Regions from separate parts of the Homo sapiens genome. Here region 1 is linked to region 2. Evidence: promoter capture Hi-C in 16 types of primary human blood cells and fetal thymus (Javierre and others, 2016). All regions are on one chromosome and are shown on one strand. Each heading gives the region's core, a stretch centred on a gene start or on the middle of the fragment in contact. The rest is flanking DNA. Distances are from core to core; before and after follow the strand shown. Region 1 overlaps S1PR5 (sphingosine-1-phosphate receptor 5). Region 2 holds the start of SLC44A2 (solute carrier family 44 member 2 (CTL2 blood group)).

Region 1 (2,985 bases), core at 348-2,847, 110 kb after region 2:
GGTGATGGTGGTCAGGGAAGACCTCTCTGCAGAGGTAGTGACTTGTGATGTGAGCTGAGACCTCTGTCCTGGGAAGACCAAAAGAAAAGCATTTCAGGATGAGGGAATGGCATGCGCAAAGGCCCTGAGGCTGAAATGTGCCCATGTGTTCTAAGAAATGCAGCGATGCTGGTGTGCCTGGAGCAGGGACGGAGGGGGAGAATGGGAGGAGACAAGGAGCTGAAGGAGTAGTTCCCGAAGGACCTTGTGGGTGATATAGAGGACTTCGCTTTTGCTCTGAGTGAGGTGGGAGCCATAGAAGCTTCTAAGCAGAAGAGGGACTTGCCCTAATTCAGGTGATCACAGGTGTCTTGTGGCCTCCATGGGAGGTTGAAAACCAGAGAAGGTGAAGGGGGGCTGCACTGAGCCACAGGAACAATGATGGAGATTCCAGCTAAGCCCAGACCCCGTGGATTCTAGATAGATTTTAGAGGCAGCAGACAGAATTACTGAGGAATTGAGTGTAAGAGTGGAATAAAGTTATCAAGGACAATGCCAAGGGTGGGGCACCCCCAAATTTGACTCTGGGAGACTCAGCCAAATCCTATCTGGTAATAAAATTTCTTTTTTATTTTTCTTTTCTTTCTTTCTTTCTTTTTTTTTTTTTTGAGTTGGGATCTTGTGCTCTGTCACCCAGGCTGGAGTGCAATGGGCACAATTATAGCTCACTGCAGCCTGGAACTCCTGGGATCAAGCCTGGAGTTCCTGCTTCAGCCTCCCTAGTAGCTGGGACTACAGGCATGCACCACCATGCCCAGTTAATAAAATTTCTTCAAATGCAGTTTCAGATCCTTCATTAAAAGAAATAATAATAATAGGCTGGGTGCCGTGACTCATGCCTCTAACCCCAGCACTTTGGGAGGCAGAGGTGGGCAGATCACCTGATGTCAGGAGTTTGAGACCAGTTTGGCCAACATGGTGAAACCCCATCTCTACTAAAAATACCAAAATTAGCCAAGTGTGATGGCTTACGCATATAGTTCCAGCTACTCGGGAGGCTGAGGCAGGAGAATCCCTTGAAACTGGGAGGCGGAGGTTGCAAAGAGCTGCACTCCAGCCTGGGTAACAAAGTGAGACTCGGTCTAAAAAAAAAAAAAAAAAAAAAAGGATAACAAAATAAGGCCAGACACAGTGGCTCATGCCTGTAATCCCAACACTTTGGGAGGCTGAGGCAGAAGGATCGATTGAGGCTGGGAGTTTGAGACCAGCCTGGTCAACATAGTGAGACCCCATCTCTACAAAAAATTTTAAAAATTAGGCAGTTGTGGTTACGCATGCCTATAGTCACAGCTACTGGGGAGGCTGAAGAAGGAGGATTTCCAGAACCCAGGAGCTCAGGGGCTGCAGTGAGCTATTTTTGCATAACTGAACTCCAGCCTGTGTGATGAAATCATGTCTTTTAGGAAAACATAAGAGGTTTTTTGGTTTCTCTTTTTTTTTTTTTTTTGAGATGGAGGCTCACTCTATCACCCAGGCTGGAGTGCAGTGGCGCAATCTCGGCTCACTGTAAGCTCCACCTCCCAGGTTCACGCCATTCTCCTGCCTCAGCTTCCCAAGTAGCTGGGACTACAGGTGCCCGCCACCAAGCATGGCTAATTTTTTTGTATTTTTAGTAGAGATGGGGTTTCACAGTGTTAGCCAGGATGGTCTTGATCTCCTGACCTTGTGATCCGCCCACCTCGGCCTCCCAAAGTGCTGGGATAACAGGTGTGAGCCACTGCGCCTGGCCTTTTTTTTTTTTTTGAGATGAAGTCTCACTCCGTCACCAGGCTGGAGTGCAGTGCTGCAATCTTGGCTCACTACAACCTCCGCCTCCTGGGTTCAGGCGATTCTCCTGCCTCAGCCTCCCGAGTAGCTGGGATTACAGGCACCGCCACCACACCTGGCTAGTTTTTGTATTTTTAGTAGAGATGGGGTTTCACATATTGATCAGGCTGGTCTTAAACTCCTGACCTCGTGATCTGCCCGCCTCAGCCTCCCAAAGTGCTGGGATTACAGGTAGAGCCACTGTGCCCGGCCGTTTTTTGGTTTCTTTTTGAGATAGGATCTTGCTCTGTCGCCCAGCCTGGAGTACACTGGCATAATCCCAGCTCACTGCAGCCTCAAGTGATCCTCCTGAACTCCTGTGCTCAAGTGATCCTCTTGCCTCAGCCCCCAACCCGAGTAGCTGGGGCTACTGGAGCACCACACCAAACATGTTTTGAATTTTTTTTTAGAGATGATTTCTCACCACGTTGCCCAGGCTGGTCTCAAACTCCTGGGCTCAAGCAACCCACCTTGGCCTCCCAAAGTGCTGGGATAAAGGCCAGGCACGGTGACTCACACCTGTAATCCCAGCACTTTGGGAAGCCGAGGCAGGCGGATCTCTAGAGGTCAGGAGCTCGAGACCAGCCTGGCCAACATGGTGAAACTCCGCCTCTAATAAAAATACAAAAAAAAAAAAAAAAATTAGCCGGGCATGGTGCCGCGCGCCTGTAGTCCGAGCTACTCGGGAGGCTGAGGAGGGAGAATCACTTGAACCCAGGAGGCTGGAGGTTGCAGTAAGTTGAGATCGCGCCACTGCACTCCAGCCTGGGCGACCGAGCAAGACTCCATCTCAGAAAACAAAATAACAATAACAACAACAACAACAACAACGAAGTGCTGGGATACAGGTGTGAGCCTCCACACCCGGCCTAAAGTAAGAGTTCATTTTGTCTGGCTAGTTTTCTGCACAGTTCTGGGACACACCTATTTTTCAGCCTTATAGCAACTTTGCAAGGTAGGTTTCCTAATCCCCATTAGACAGATGAGGAAATTCCAGACAGTGACTACCTTGTCTCAGTGTCTGAGCCAGGACATTAGCTTAAGCTTCAGGCCCCAGGAGGCACTGGCTTGGTATCTGACCCCTCCAGATGGGTCTGGCAAGGCTATGCCAACAGTCCCTCCCACGGGGGTCTGCATTCA
Region 2 (2,896 bases), core at 11-2,510:
GCACCACTCCAGCCTGGGTGACAGAGTGAGACTCCATCTCAAAAATAAATAAATAAATAAATAAATATAAACATGGTAAAAATTAAGTCCAGGCCAGGTGTGGTAACTCACACCTGTAATCCCAGCACTTTGGGAGGCCAAGGCAGGTGGATCGCTTTGAGCTCACGAGGTCGAGACCAGCATGGGCAACACAGCGAAACATCTCTGCTAAAAGTACAAAAAAAAAAAAAAATTAGCCAGGTGTGGTGGTGCAAGCCTGTAATCCCAGCTACTTGGGAGACTGAGGTGGGAGAATTGCTCGAACCCGGGAGGCGAAGGTTGCAGTGAGCCGAGATTGAGATCGCGCCACGGCACTCCAGCCTGGTGACAGAGCAAGACTCCATCTCAAAAAAAAAAAAAAGTTTCAAATATTTGTCACCAGTTTGTTGGAGAACAGATGGGAGGGGGTGTGAAGAGACAGGGATTGGGGTAGTATTAGCGGGGAGAACCCCCCAAAACCCAGAGCTCTTACCTATTGTAAATGGGTCCTTTGAAAGTGGGATCATACTTCTGTGGCGTTCCTGAAAGTCAAGAAGATTAAGATGGATGGGATTGGAGACCTGAACCAAGACAGGGCTGGGAGAGCCCCCTCCCAAAAGCCCCTAGGGGTGTCTTTGCCTTGGCAAGAATAAAATTCAGAGACCTGTGGAATTTTCTGCCTCACCCACCTCCAGGTGACCACACCCAAGCCCCCAGTTCTGGCAGGCCAGGACAGGGGAGGAAGGAGGGATCACTAACTGTGAACAAACTTATTAACTGGCGGCCACCCACTGGGAAGAGGGCTGAAATGGTGACCACCACGGAACCAGGTGGAGATGGGGAAGATCTGAGGTGGGATAGGGGGAAGGAGGCGCCGGCAGCAGTGCCAGGCAGAGGGGTACAGGGGCAGGTCCTTCGGGTAGGGGAGAGTAAGGAGGGTCGTCTGCGAGGCTGCGGGGGATAAGTGGGGTGAAGGGGCCTGGCTGATGGTGGGGAGGCTCCAGGCGCAGATTTGCAATTGCGCTCCCCCTCCAGCCCCCTTCCCTGCGCCCCATGTTCTCTCAAGGCCCCCTCCGAGGGACCGAGGGGTCGGCCCGGGGCTACGGGCGGGGGTCGCTGCCTACCGTGTTTCCCGTAGTAGTGGGGCCGCTCGTCCCCCATCCCTGCAGGCGACCAGCCCCGGCGGCCGCCCGCGCTCTCTCCCGCGCCCCCTCGACCCTCCCGAGTCTGGAGGGAGGCACTGACCGCGCGACTGGCGGCGGCTCCTCCCAGCACAGCGCCAGGCGGGGCGGCCCAAACCGGTCAGACCGGCCCGAGCTGGGCAGCTGCCCAGACTAAGGGACCCGGGAGGGCGCGGGCGGGGCTGCAGCTGCTCCCGCCACTCACCGGCCGGCCGCATTTAGCCTTCCCCGCCCCCACCCGGGAACCCTGCGGCTTCACCCTGGGAACACCCTGCCACCGGGCGATGCCGCCTAGAACCCCTGGCCACCCTGAAAGGGCGTTTCCGTGGCTTCGTTTTGCAGGTGTGGAAACTGAGGCACTGGGAGGGAAAACGGCCTACTGCCCAAACCCAGACAACCAACTGTGGAATGTTGGTGCTGAAAACTTCTCCAAGCTGTGCAGGAAATTAGTTTTCTTTCTGTCTGCTGCTTTTTTTTTTTGAGACAGGATCTCCCTCTGTTGCCCAGGCTGGAGTGCAGTGGTGCAATCACAGCTCATCGCAGTCTCGACCTCCCTGCCTCAAGCCATCCTCCTGACTAAGCCTCCTGAGTAGCTGGGACTACAGGTGCTCTACTGCACTCGGCTAATTTTTAATTTTTTTTGTAGAGATGGGATGTTGCTATGTTGCCCAGGCTCATCTTTAACTCCTGGACTCGTGGGCTCCTCCCACCGTGGCCCCCCAAAGTGCTGGGATTACCTGCGTGCACTACTGGGCCTGGTCTTAGAACAAGTATTTATTCAGCCCTTAGTGGGTGCAGGCCTTGGGCGGGGCACCGCATACAGTGAGGAACCAGAGAGACCCAATCTCCACCCTTGTGGAGCCCACATCCTCCTGGGTCGCCCTGAATTCAAATGCTCCTTCTGCACCCTCTGAACTAGAGGATACTTAACAAAGGGCTTATCTTCCTTAAGCCTCAGTTTCCTCAACTGCAAAATGAGGCTAAAGTATGAAACCAAAACTGACCTCAAAGAGCAGGCATAGGCCAGGTGCAGTGGCTCATGCCTGTAATCCCAGCACTCTGGGAGGCTGAGGCAGGTCGATCAGGATTTCTAAGCCAGCCTGGCCAACATGGTGAAACCCCTTCTCTACTAAAAATACAAACATTAGCCAGTGTGGTGGCACATGCCTGTAATCCCAGCTACTTGGGAAGCTGAGGCAGGAGAATCGCTTAAACCCAGGAGGTGGAGGTTGCAGTGAGCCAAGATTGCCTCACTGCACTCCAACCTGGGGGACAGAGTGAGACTCTGTCTCCAAAAAGAAAAAGAAAAAAGAAAATAGGCTGGGTGTGGTGGCTAACACCTATAATCCCAGCACTTTGGGAGGCCGAGGTGGGCGGATCATGAGGTCAAGAGATCGAGACCATCCTGGCCAACTTGGTGAAACCCCGTCTGTACTAAAAATACAAAAATTAGCTGGATGTTGTGGTGTGCACCTGTAGTCCCAGCTACTTGGGAGGCTGAGGCAGGAGAATCACTTCAACCCGAGAGGCGGAGGTTGCAATGAGCCGAGATCGTGCCACTGCACTCCAGCCTGGGTGACAGAGCGAGTGTCTCAAAAAATCAATCAATCAATAAATCAAAAATTAGCCGGGTGTGGTGGTTCATGCCTGTAATCCCAGCACTGTGGGAGGCCGAGGCGGGCAGATCACTGAGGTCA

What was found. Contacts are between HindIII fragments. The CHiCAGO score rates a contact against its expected background, and 5 or more counts as called.
Region 1: a contact is called between a fragment that was not itself captured here and the fragment with the promoter of SLC44A2 in region 2, in 7 of 17 cell types (naive CD8 T cells, naive B cells, total CD8 T cells and 4 more). The highest score is 6.5, in naive CD8 T cells.

Annotation. Positions count from the first base shown.
Region 1 is chr19:10,510,577-10,513,561 of GRCh38, reverse strand. It overlaps S1PR5 (sphingosine-1-phosphate receptor 5), which reads left to right. Exons shown (of 2, transcript NM_030760.5): 2 at 1-820. Among named protein-coding and RNA genes, the nearest start is that of S1PR5, 5.4 kb to the left of the region's middle. The HindIII fragment of the contact is 2,588 bases long and covers 304-2,891 here.
Region 2 is chr19:10,623,917-10,626,812 of GRCh38, reverse strand. It overlaps SLC44A2 (solute carrier family 44 member 2 (CTL2 blood group)), which reads right to left and starts at 1,260. Exons shown (of 22, transcript NM_020428.4): 1 at 1,143-1,260; 2 at 512-560. The coding sequence starts at 1,179. RefSeq lists an enhancer at 2,221-2,802. The HindIII fragment of the contact is 23,966 bases long and covers 1-2,896 here.